4 separate regions of the Homo sapiens genome follow, and regions 1, 2 and 4 are each linked to region 3. The links are contacts of gene promoters, found by promoter capture Hi-C in blood cells and fetal thymus (Javierre and others, 2016). All regions are on one chromosome and are shown on one strand. Each heading gives the region's core, a stretch centred on a gene start or on the middle of the fragment in contact. The rest is flanking DNA. Distances are from core to core; before and after follow the strand shown. Region 1 holds the start of RBM22 (RNA binding motif protein 22). Region 2 holds the start of CSNK1A1 (casein kinase 1 alpha 1). Region 3 holds the start of SAP30L-AS1 (SAP30L and GALNT10 antisense RNA 1). Region 4 holds the start of TCOF1 (treacle ribosome biogenesis factor 1).

Region 1 (2,865 bases), core at 320-2,819, 3.7 Mb before region 3:
ATGGATCTGGGCTGGGTGGCAGTGGCTCACGCCTGTAATCCCAACACTTTGAGAGGCCAAGGTGGAAGGATTGCTTGAGCCCAGGAGTTCCAGACTAGCCTGGGCAACATAGCGAGATGCTGTCTCTACAGAAAAAAGAAATAGAGTATATGCATCTAATGCTAGGTAAGTGAGTGTCTTTCCACAGCCACAACTCTTAGGTTCATTTTTGGCTCCCAAGTTCACTCCCAAGAACTAACATTCCTAATGCTTTCCACAATCCCTAAATCAGAGAGGATACAGCTGTGGCCCGCCCACTTTACAAAGTTTAGTCAAAAGGTAGCTACTGTAGACTTGTCCTGTGCCAATGCCCGGAATATAGTAAATGTTCTGTTTAAACAGAACTATTCAAACATCTTGAACCATTCAAACATCGTGAACATACTAACATATCAACACCTCTACGACTACACAATAATACAGCCCTAACCTTATTATTGTTAACTGGTTCTAATTTTACCCTAGTTTGTAACAAAGGGGGAATGCTTACTTTAAAGAGATAAAGTACACTGGCCAAAAGGCATTTGACCAGGATTCAGGAAACCTAGTTTCTAGTTCTGGTTCTCCTCCTATCATGCTGACATTCCTAGAGCCAGAATATGTGAACTTAAATCCCAGCTCCATTCCTTACTATTGTATGAAAAGACACAAACGCTCTCACCTTCTGGTCAACAGACCTATTTCCTAGGTAAATGCTCAACAAATACTAGCTATCGTTATTACCCCTACATTACAGGAGTGTTACCGGATTCGTAAGAGAATACACATGACAGTTCTTTGCAAGTCGTCCAGCACTTCGCGTTAGTAAAAGAGCATCATTTTTTCTGCTTGTCTAAGAGAAACACTTCACAGTGTGCAAGTACCACAACATCGACAGGACATGAATAACTCGTTTCACACGCGATCACTCACCATTCGGATATATGGGTTTTCTCCAAGACATGTCTGGCACAGAATGGGGAAGTCCTGGTGAAAATGGGAAATCTGGTTGAGGACCACCCTCCGAAGACCCTGACACCTCAGTGACACTTGGGGTGGCGAGGGGGCGGGAAGCGAGGGTGGGGAACTAGGCACGGCAGGAACCCGAAGTCCATCACGACCCGATCGCGGGAGGGGGCGCTGTCTGCACTTCCGGCAGGCGGCGGGAGAAAAGAAAACCAGCTCTAATAGGCTGGAGGGGGCAGGGATGGAAAGGGTGCTGGTCCCGGGACCCTGGCTAAGCCCCCTCCCTTCAAGCCCGCAGGAGGATCGCCCTCCGCCCTCCTGCTCCGGCCAAGCTAGGCCGCCGCGCTGGCTCCTCCCCGGTATTCCTTCGGCCGCGCCGCAGGCCCTGTCCTGCCAGCTTGCAAGGTGCGCGGCTTCGCCTCCTCCTTCCATCCTCCTCCGGCAGGCACACTCACCGCATCCTCCCAGTTCTGCCTGTTGTAGGTGTTGGAACCCAGAGAGGTCGCCATCTTGAGAGCGTCCGGAGGTAGCTGTAGCTTCCGAATTGGGAGAGAGGACCGCCACAATCCCGTCAAGCCCCGAGGCTAGCGCCGCGCCGGTCGGCGTCTTATTTACGCGTCTAGGGCTTCTTCCGGGGCGGGGCCTTTGCGTCATGACGTCGCCCGCTCTTGGAATTTCTAAGCTTAACAATTGGGGTCCTGGTATAATGCACCTGGATGCTTCCTTCGAGTTTTTGCCTGCTTGGAATGAAGGGCCACACGTACAGTTGATTCATTTAACAATTGGGCGAAAGAATAAAGGAAGACGTAATGCATCAGAGGCTGGGGTTAAAATAGCGTTCGCTACCACTGAGGCGCTTATTATGCCAAACTCTGGGCGAACGTCTTGCGGTTCCAGTGTCTTATTTATTCGCATAACCTCTCTGTAGGGCTCTCTGTAGGGCTGCCAGATTCTGATTCTGTCTCTCTCTCTCTCTCTCTCTCTCTCTCTCTCTCTCTGTCACTCACACACACACATGCACACACACACACGCACGAATTACAGAACGTCTAAAGTTGAATTTCAGATTAACGGCGAATCGCTTTTTAATTATAAATATATATGGTACCTACTCGTCCTAAAGTAGGATTCGTGGTTGACCTGAAATTCACATCACTTAACCAATCGTCCTGTATTTTATCTGGTAACTCTACCCTGTAGGCAAGTATGATGATCCCTCTTTTATAGAAAAGAAAACAGGTTTAGAGAGATTAACCTAATCTCTCCTGATATAGCTCCTGGTTGTGGAGCTAAAAAGTGGTGAAGCCACAAATTCATTAGTACTGTTTCATTTCCAGCTTCTGAAATGACAAGGGTCTTACGAATCAACATATGCATTATTTGATTTTTGGAATAACTCATAACCACTCTGCCAATATTTTATGAGTTTCAAGCCATTCTGGTACCACTTTCATACTTACCGTGTCATCAAGCTACCTAACACATTTATTTAAATCACCTCATTAAAAAAAAAAGTTGATTTAAAGTATAATTTACATAAAGTTTTATCCTTTTTAGTTTTGAATTTTGTACATACATTCACTTACAGTCAAATATGGAATTGTCTGTCATCCCCAAAGTTCCCTTGTTTCTGTAGTTAGTCCACTTATCCCATACTCAAACCATGGCAATCACTAATTTGTGTTCTGTCCCTAGTTTTGCCTTTTCCAGAATGTCACATAAGTGGAATCCTATATATCCTTTTGGATCTGATATTTTTTCACTTAGTATTTTGTAGTTGAGATTCATCCATATTATTACATGTATCAATAATTTCTTCCTTTGTATTACTGAGTAGAATTCCATTGTATGGATATATCATACAATTCACTTGCCAGTTGC
Region 2 (3,182 bases), core at 561-3,060, 4.9 Mb before region 3:
GAACAAAAACACAACAAAAGAGCAGCCATTTCCCAAGCCAGCTCCAATAGCAACTCGAACTGACACTGCCGGGTCGCTTCGGCACCTTCAAATCCACTTCACTGGACAAACCTAAGTACATCAGAAGTGCCGCCGTAAAAAAGGCAGCAGCCAACCCTTCCGCGTAGGGATCAAAGATGACCTGCACGCATAACTGCAAATGAAAGCCTCGGGAAGAGTGAGAATGACGGAAGCGAAATGGAGCAGTGTAATACAATGAAATAAGTTGGCAAACTGAAATTTACTCAGTAATTGAGATGACTGACTTACAGGAAACCACCAGCTATAGGGAACCCAGGTAACTAAAACACCAAGACCCGGATTCAGCTGGTCTCATTACCTGCCTCTACCCACTTCCCCATTCCGTGCTTCCCTCAGCGGATCGCCTATATGCACCGGGTTCTTACCGTATGTGGGGGATGCCAACCCCACCTTGAAGAATCTTATAGAGCTTGCTCTCGTACAGCAACTGGGGATGCCTGGCCTTCTGAGATTCTAGCTTCACTGCCACTTCCTGCAGGGGAAAGAGGGGATGATGGCATCAACATCCCTACGGATTCAATGTCACTTAGGAAAGGAGGGAGACATTAGCAAAACTCCAAGTCGCGACTACAAGAAGAAGTGAAAAGCTGGAAAGAGAAAGCTCTCGGTAATTATAAAACGAGGCAACCAGCCTCAAAGGCCTCTTCAGGGGGTAGTGACGAAATCCGTACGTCCTCTAAAGTGCAGGAAAATGATTCATCCAGAAAAAAGAGGCAACCTCTGAACGTAGTGAGAGGTTTTTAAGGAACTAGGCGATCGGAAACTGTTCTAATTGGAACAAGAGGCCCAGTAGAATTAAGAATTAAAAAAAAAAAAACATGGGAATCACTGAAAGAGGATTTTGCCGTTTCCACCTTAAAAGACGGTTAAAAAAAAAAAAAGCTCGACTAAGGGACATTTATGGGACGTGTTTAACAAGGTGGGAAACTAGTTCCCCCAACCTTTCTATCGGGTTCTTGACCCTTTTAGGGAGACAGCGGACGAGGTTCGTAAGCCAGGAAAACTAGCTCCCTGGACTCCCTGGCGAGTGCGTGCGATGAGGAGAGGCCCGAGCACTTTGGGGGTGCACGGTGGTGGTGGGGGGAATGAGTAAAAGCGCAGCGTTATCGTGAACCCCACCCCAGATGATTACCTCGCCGTTGGTGATGTTGATCGCCAAATAGATGTCCCCGAAGGAGCCAGACCCGATCTTCCGTACCAGTTTATATTTCCCTCCGACAATGAATTCAGCCTTGGAGCCGCTGCTACTCGCCATCCTGAGAGACGAAGATGGAGGCTGGGGCCAAGCCCCGACACCTCTGGGAAGAGGACGGAGGCCTCGGGGCTCCTACACTAGGCAAGGCTACGGAGGAGGGCGGCAGGAAACGGAACACGGAGGCCTTTACCGGGGTTCGGGGCCCAGAATCAGCAGAGGGGAACCTGATCACCGCCGCTCAGTCAGGTTTCTTTTTGCCAGGCCGCAGTTTGTGAAGGGCTTCTCGGCGGTTACCAGGCTGGGCCACTTGTTTCTCGGCGGCCGCCGCTGCCTCGCTTGCGCGGCGACGTCGCGGGCTGGAAAAGGGGCGCGGTGAGCTAGGGCGGCGATACCGCTGCCACCACTGCCGCCGGCTCCGGCCCAGAGGGACCCCTGTCACTCCGCGGACGACGCCATCTTGTTACTCCAGCTCCAGCCAACACAAAATGCCCCCAGTCCCCGGGAGCCGCTTCTTCACGGCGCAGAGCACTCTGGGAAAGGGATCTCGGGCGCTCGCTCCGAAGGATCGGCAGCGAGAGGGCGGAACCGGATCCGTGAGAGTCGCGGCCCACGCTCCGAGCGTCACCCTGTCACCGCCCAGCTGCGCATGAGCGCTGCAACTCCTGCTGACTGCGCAGGCGTGCCGCGGCCTGTCCTCACCCCCGTCCCGGGCTCTCTTCCACTTCCGGTCGGCGGCGGCTCAGCAGGTGTTACCTGTTACTCGCCTCGGACCCGCCGGGTCTCTGGAAGGCTGAGTGGCCCCCCGGCCTTGATATTGGGAGGAGTCACCTTCATGTTTCGTGGCAGATGAAAGCTTAAGGCCTCCTTAGGAGTTGGGTATTGACCTGTGCTCTTTGAGGCGGTTTTTAACCTTTGATCTTTCTTCTGGCCGTTCCCCCGGACCGGCCTATTCCAACCCAGTTTCTGTTTGGAAAGAGGCTGTCGCCTCTGGTGGAGAGGAAGAGAAAAGCAGCCAGCGTCGAGGAATCTCTCAGGGCTCTCGGTTGTAGCAGAGCCTAGCTAATTACCCTTCATAATTAGAATTGTCCTATCTACTACGGAGTGTTATAGACCCTCTTTCCACAGGAGGGGAAGAAAGAAAGAAGCCGGAATCCCCCTGCCATCCTATGTCTTTGCATTATTGCCTCACTACCACATATGATCTTCAGAAGAAAACCTGGTATGTTGCTCATAATGAAGATTAAGGATAGATGGAATCAACAGAAAATTAATTTAACAAGAGTGAAAAAACTGTTATGTCCCCTCAACCCCACCAAAAAAAAAAAAAAAAAAAAAAAAAAGAATCGTATGTTGGTCTTGTTGAAAACCTCAGTATTAACCTGAACAGAGTAGAGGTAACTATTACAAAATTTAATTGACAACATTTAAAACTACACGGTAATTTTTTTCTTTTTTACAAAAAATCGATCAGAGAATCAAATTTTGACCACGTTTTGTTTTACAAAATTTGACCTGGGAAAATTGGGCTTAGTAATAATAATGTTCACGAAAGAAAACTCCATGGTTGATGCTATCATCTTAAGTCAGACCTCAGTCGTAAAAATTTAAGCTAAGCCTATCCTAAATAAAATTTAATTAAAATAGAAATGGGGGGCGGGCGCAGTGGCTCACGCCTGTAATCCCAGCACTTCGGGAGGCCGGGGCGGGCAGATCACTTGAGGTCAGTTGTTCGAGACCAGCCTGGCCAACATGATGAAACCCCGTATCTACTAAAAATACAAAAATTAGCCGGGTGTGATGGCGCACACTTGTAACCCCAGCTATTCGGGAGTCTGAGAATCGCTTGAACCCGGGAGGCGGAGGTTGCGGTGAGACTAGATCACGCCACTGTACTCCAGCCTGGGCA
Region 3 (2,732 bases), core at 210-2,709:
AATTTCATATCCTGAATTTTTTTACTTATCATAAAAAAAGCATTTCTCCAACTCCTCATCAGCTCTTTATTTAAGAATTAATGGTGAATTATTCTCTATAGAAAATGTTTACATTGATGTTGAAACTACCTCAAATGCTAACTGCACAATCTCTTTCTGAAGATTTTAGGTAGTTTACTTAACCACTTCCCTTTTGGAACTCTGAGGTTCTATTTTATTTTTCCTATTATAAATAATTCCATAATGAACATCACTGTACTTCATATTATCTCTGATAGGCCTATTTCCGACGATGGCTGTCCCACGTGTGAAATTACCAGTTCAGATGCTACAAATGCATTTATGGCCACTGAGCAAAACTTAAGATCACCAGCCACCTGCTTCTAAACATGGAAACTGGTAGCTTTCCCTTTTACAACAGGACACAAACCCGAAGCTCCTTCTATGCCCTCTAGTACTAACACTTGCTTACCTATCACCTAACACAGCCTCCCCTCTTCCCTGCCCATAAAACGCTGCCCAGCCCTACATAATTACACGACCCTGGGCTGGTCCCATCGCCTTTCGGACCTCATCAGTCCCCATGCTGCGCAGTTGGAGAGTGGCATGACTGAAGTGCTGGACCAGAGCATATCCTACGGCCCCTCCTGGAGGGGAGGTGGTGCCCTGGGCGCCGAAACCAAGCGCAGGGTCTTGGCAGGGCGCAGTCGCTTCGCCGGTAGACCCGGGGACTCAAAGCAATAGAACTACAGCTTGGAGCTCCAGGGAGAGCCCAAGACACCGCAGCCCTTCCCCATCTAGATTCCGAGATTGGCCCCTGGGCCCCACTCCCAGCCTTCACTTCATCTCCCCTGAAGCCCTTTCTCTTGCCCGCGGCTCACCTAGTCCACCCTCCAGACCTCATTCGGACTTCCCATTCTTCCCAGTGGAGGGGTCGCCCAAACCCCTCGGGGTCTCCTTTCCCCCTCTCCTTTTCTTTCCGCGCCGTCCAAGCCAGTCCCACTCTCCACACTCTGGAAGGTATCGGCTACCCCCAATATTGCGACTGCCTTGCAAGATCCCCCCATCACCTCCTCCGCATGTCTTTCCACGTATCTGTATGGGGTTGTCCCTCTGTCTTTCCCGCCATGACTGGCTTTCCGTCCTATTTCACCCACCCTTCCTCCCACGGATCCGCGAGTCCTCTGGCCCTGGCCCTTTCATTTTATTAGTCCGCCCCTCTCCTGATAGCACCTCTATCCTCTTTAGGTCCCCTCATATGCCCCTCCTCCAAGTCTGTCCCTCAGCGTCCCCGTCCGCGTCTCTACTGTCTGTCCCCGAATGTGTTCCTCTGTTCCTGGAGTCTGGCCCTCGGTCCAGCCAGGCCCCTGCTCACCATCCCTCCCCCGGGCCGGAGAGTCTGCAGCCCGGTTCCCGGTTCTCGCTGGGGTAACTCTTTCCTCTTCCACTTTCTCTACTTTGAACCCATCCCAGCAGAGTCCAGGAAGTAGCCTGGCGCCGGAGACTGGCGGCGGCGACGCCCAATGGGACGCGCCAGCGGCGGCGGCAGCCCCGCCCAGAGAGCAAATGAGACCAATGGTCGCGTGAAGGCGGGACTTCCGCTGTCCCGCGAAGGGCGGGGGGAGCGAACTGTTGTGGTGCGGAGCGTTCGGCGGGCGGCGGCCGGGCGGCCCAGGGGCTGCCGCGGGACTCGGGGCGCAGCCGAGTGGCTGCAGGGGTGGAGTGGGCCGGACGAGCCGCGGGGCCCGGGTGCCGCGGGTTCGAGGCCGGGCCCCGCGCGAGGAGGCCGCGCCACCCCGGGGGAGCTGCCCGGCAGCGAGTTTGCCCCGCTGCCGAAAGAAGGCGGGAGCCGGCAGGGGCCTTCGAAACCCCCTGGCAACCCAGGCCCGGAGTCCTTGGGGAGCGGCTGTTTCCTGGGACGCCCTCCCGGACACCCCCGCTGCAGGGTTACGGTTCTGGGCCCCCGGCAGAAGGCTCCTCCGGGTGACCCCCGGCGGGGCCCTGCGAGCCGCGGGAGCCGACCCCGGGGCCTCGAGCCGGGAGGAAGGGGGCTTCCGGAGGCGGAGGGCCGGGGGCCGAGGGAGCCGGGCCTCTCGGACGCGGGGCAGGGCAGCGCCCGGGCTGGAGACGGACTCTGGGACCCTCGGCTGCGGGGGTCTCAGCGACCTGCCCCGCGGCAAGCGCGGCCGCGGAGTGGCCTACCGGGGACCCTCCCCCAGAGGGACCGGCCCGGGGCGGGGAGATGAACGGCTTCAGCACGGAGGAGGACAGCCGCGAAGGGCCCCCCGCCGCCCCAGCTGCCGCCGCCCCGGGCTACGGCCAGAGCTGCTGCCTCATCGAGGACGGCGAGCGCTGCGTCCGGCCCGCGGGCAACGCCTCCTTCAGCAAGAGGGTCCAGAAGAGCATCTCGCAGAAGAAACTCAAGCTGGACATCGACAAGAGCGTGAGTCCGCCCCCGCTCGCGTCTGGGCCCCGGCGCCCCCAGCTCTCCGTCCGCTGCCCTGGGCTCCAGTCGGGACTCCCCGGGCACTCCCCGCCGTGGGCCTCGCCGCCCCGGCTCTGCAGAACTGAGTTGGACTCCGCATTTCAAAGGCCGCTCCAGCGCTGACATGCTCTGACTGTGATTCTACCCAGATCCGGGAGGATGGGGGCGGGGGCTTCAGGACTCCTGCTGCCTGGAAAGATTGGACAGCAGTTTCCAACTTGTTTTATTGGTTTAGACTTTAGAGCAG
Region 4 (3,103 bases), core at 478-2,977, 4.1 Mb before region 3:
GTTATATGCTTTCACAATAATAGCACACACGCACACAGAGAGCGCTATTGTTCAGAGCTCCTCTAAGCATTTCTGCTGAGAATTCATTTACTCCTTATGACAACCCAGTGAGGTAGAAATTATAATTATCTCCATTGTACAGATAAAGAAACTGAGTCACAGTGACTTGCCCAAAGTCACCTAGTTAATGAGGCAAAGCCAGAATTTGAACCCAGGCAGTGTGACTCCAGTGCAGCTTTTAAACACTATATTATTACATAAGAAAACACTATCCTTTTCCTTCCTGCACTTACCCGCTGTTTGTAACACTGTATTGTATGACTATTAGTTTAGTATGTGTCTCCTCCGTTAGACTGTAAGCTCTATTGGAGTAGAGACAATTCCATCACTAGACTGTAAGCTCTATAGGAGTAGAGACTATTCCATCCCCAATGGTAGGTACTCAATAAATATTTGCTCAAGAAAATGGGAAATGTTGAATGTGTACAGACACATAACATTTTCCATTCAAGTTCAAGACAAAGATAACCACATACCTGGACCTCCTAGGGTTAGGGACTCCTGCGCCCGTAAGAAACATGCTGCCCTCAGATTCTCAATGGGTCGGTGAAGTTAAGAACAGCTCACTCTAACATTCTCCAGCCTACCTCACCTTTTCCCTGCCATCCTTCCCTCAACAACTACAACAGCCTCACATTTAGTATTAATGGTATGTGCTTTGGTTTTAGCAATCTTTTAAAAACACAAAACAGGGTCAACCTCCTCGGAAAAGCCAGTCAGAGACTATCTAATGCCCTCAGAGCAAAGTCCAAACTCTGTTGGGGGTGGGGGAGTTGTAGGCCTTGTCTACTTCTTCATCCTCATGTGCCCTCATTTGTTCCCTCTTCCCCACCTCACCCCACCCCACCTGGACAGCCCAGCAGCGCAGACTAGGGGTTCTGGGTTTAGGGTTCCCAGGCAATAGCAGGGTGTTTTCTCATGCCTAGACTCATGCAGTGCCCTCTGCCAGTCCTCTCCTTTGCACCCAGCAATTTCGGGTGTCTTTATGCCTCAGCTTAGATATCTCTCTGGGGTTCGGTGCTCCTCCTTGGGGCGCCCATAGGCTGCATCTGTCCCTGACAAGGCACACAAGATATTGAACTATAGTTGCTTGGTTACGGACAGTCGTCTCTGTGAGCTTTGAGGGCAACTGCCATGTATTATGCATCTTTTGAATCCCCCTAGCCTAGCCGGGTGCTAGCCCAAGTTAGGTGCTTATTACAGATTTGTTCAGTTAGCGAATGAATCAATGAATAAACTGGCAATTCGTGTCTGGTTCATGGGCACCAAAAACCGTGCGAAATGGATAAATGAGCAGGTAATGGCAGTACAAAGTTCGGATCTAGAGAAAGATCCAGATTAGGGAGTTCAGAGATGAGTAAAACGCAGACCCAGCCATCAGAGAATTAACAAGGAAGATAAATCTCTTCAAGAAGCCAGCCGGAAGGATTAAAAGAGAGTCGTCCAAGTCCCGGCCGGCCCCGGGGGCGGGTCCCTGTCTAGCCCCGCATGCTCCGCGCCAATGGGCGGTATTGTTGATCACGAGTCTCCGCCCCCTTCGCCTTGAGGGGCGGGGCCGGCCACTCCCGGAGAGGGGACTACGTTTCCCGGCGCGCCGCGCGGCCGGAGCGAAAGAGGAGCCGGAAGTGTGGCGCGCGAGGTCTAAGGGCGCGAGGGAAGTGGCGGGCGGGGACTAAGGCGGGGCGTGCAGGTAGCCGGCCGGCCGGGGGTCGCGGGTATGGCCGAGGCCAGGAAGCGGCGGGAGCTACTTCCCCTGATCTACCACCATCTGCTGCGGGCTGGCTATGTGCGTGCGGCGCGGGAAGTGAAGGAGCAGAGCGGCCAGGTAAGCGTTCGTGGGCCGTGTGCGAGGGCCGCGTGCAAGATGTGGAGATCAGCGGCCCGCGGCCCGCGCCCCGTCCCCAGGCGACCCGGCAGGCGCCCGGAGCCGGGTCCCGCAGTGCTCGACGGCGCGGCCAGGGGTACCGGAGGAGCCGCAATCTCTGCCTTCCCACTGCGACTTCAGTTCCCCTGGGCCTCACTTTCCTCATCCGGGCAGTGGGTTGGGCCAGAAAGTGTGCTCGCAGGGGCCGAACTTTGTAATTCCCGCTTCCCTTACCTCCACGCCCTTCCTGGTAGCGGGTATTTTAAGTTTCCTAAGTCTCCCGCCACGTGGCTAGGCTCTGCGCGGCCCCCCCTGGGGCAAGGAGGTTGCTGCGAGTCTCGGGGGTGGATTGCGACCAGCCCCTCGGGGGAGCGCCTGGAAAAGGGACCCTACAGCCTCTTAGTTGAGCTGGAACTCAGGCCTTTAGCGATTGTCTGTACTGAGACGGTCAGCTTTGGTACTCGAACTCGTGGTACAGTCATTTCTTACTTGATTAATTCAACTGTTAATCCGGTACTCAGGGTGCTTCCTGGTGTTCGAATGGTGAGCACCATCTCTCAGCCCTCCTGGAGCTTACACTCTAGTAAGGTAGACAAATCAAAGAATCACAAAAGTGACTATATGCTTAGCACCGCAATAAGTGTTAAGAATGAGAGGGATGGGCCGGGCACGGTAGCTCACGCCTGTAATCCCAGCACTTAGGGAGGCCGAGACTAGCGGATCACCTGAGGTCAGAAGTTCGAGACCAGCCTGGCCAACATGGTGAAACACCGTTTCTACTAAAAATACAAAAATTAGCTGGGCATGTTGGCGCACGCCTGTAATCCTGGCTACTCATGTGGCTGAGGCACAAGAATTGCTTGAACCCGGGAGGCAGAGGTTGCAATGAGTCAAGATCGTGCCACTGCACTCCAGCCTGGGCGATAAAGCGAGACTCTGCCTCAAAAAAAAAAGAGAGATGGATGGCAGATTGCCCTGGTCAGGAATAGCTGAGGTGTAAATGCCTTGTGGTGGGAGGGAACTTGTGTACACACTGGCCTGGAGAAAGTCCACTCTCTTGAGCCCAGGAATTTGAGGATACAGTATGAGCCATGATCATGCCACTGCACTCCAGCCTGGGCAACAGAGCAAGACACTGTCTCAAAAAAAAATTTTTTTTAAGTCCATAGCAGGCCAGGT

What was found. Contacts are between HindIII fragments. The CHiCAGO score rates a contact against its expected background, and 5 or more counts as called.
Region 1: the fragment with the promoter of RBM22 here is called in contact with the fragment with the promoter of SAP30L-AS1 in region 3 in 1 of 17 cell types (neutrophils); the score reaches 7.8 in neutrophils.
Region 2: the fragment with the promoter of CSNK1A1 here is called in contact with the fragment with the promoter of SAP30L-AS1 in region 3 in 1 of 17 cell types (neutrophils); the score reaches 13.4 in neutrophils.
Region 4: a contact is called between the fragment with the promoter of TCOF1 here and the fragment with the promoter of SAP30L-AS1 in region 3, in 1 of 17 cell types (activated CD4 T cells). The highest score is 5.2, in activated CD4 T cells.

Annotation. Positions count from the first base shown.
Region 1 is chr5:150,699,493-150,702,357 of GRCh38, forward strand. It overlaps RBM22 (RNA binding motif protein 22), which reads right to left and starts at 1,570. Exons shown (of 11, transcript NM_018047.3): 1 at 1,440-1,570; 2 at 952-1,005. The coding sequence starts at 1,493. RefSeq lists enhancers at 812-1,588, 1,589-2,365. The HindIII fragment of the contact is 2,219 bases long and covers 1-1,664 here.
Region 2 is chr5:149,549,629-149,552,810 of GRCh38, forward strand. CSNK1A1 (casein kinase 1 alpha 1) reads right to left here and starts at 1,811. Exons shown (of 10, transcript NM_001892.6): 1 at 1,214-1,811; 2 at 447-553. The coding sequence starts at 1,336. It also overlaps a transcript of ARHGEF37 not described here. RefSeq lists enhancers at 1-1,072, 1,319-1,378, 1,509-1,568, 1,599-2,268, 1,968-2,761 and 3 more. The HindIII fragment of the contact is 4,606 bases long and covers 1-2,127 here.
Region 3 is chr5:154,444,363-154,447,094 of GRCh38, forward strand. It overlaps SAP30L-AS1 (SAP30L and GALNT10 antisense RNA 1), which reads right to left and starts at 1,460. Exons shown (of 3, transcript NR_037897.1): 1 at 1,376-1,460. It overlaps SAP30L (SAP30 like), which reads left to right and starts at 1,635. Exons shown (of 4, transcript NM_024632.6): 1 at 1,635-2,443. The coding sequence starts at 2,243. RefSeq lists enhancers at 1,259-1,378, 1,432-1,932 and silencers at 1,509-2,038, 2,169-2,278. The HindIII fragment of the contact is 8,481 bases long and covers 1-2,732 here.
Region 4 is chr5:150,355,970-150,359,072 of GRCh38, forward strand. TCOF1 (treacle ribosome biogenesis factor 1) reads left to right here and starts at 1,728. Exons shown (of 27, transcript NM_001371623.1): 1 at 1,728-1,885. The coding sequence starts at 1,778. LOC105378226 (a long non-coding RNA gene) reads right to left here and starts at 1,451. Exons shown (of 4, transcript XR_944407.3): 1 at 537-1,451. RefSeq lists an enhancer at 746-915 and silencers at 1,516-1,855, 1,936-2,155. The HindIII fragment of the contact is 5,465 bases long and covers 1-3,103 here.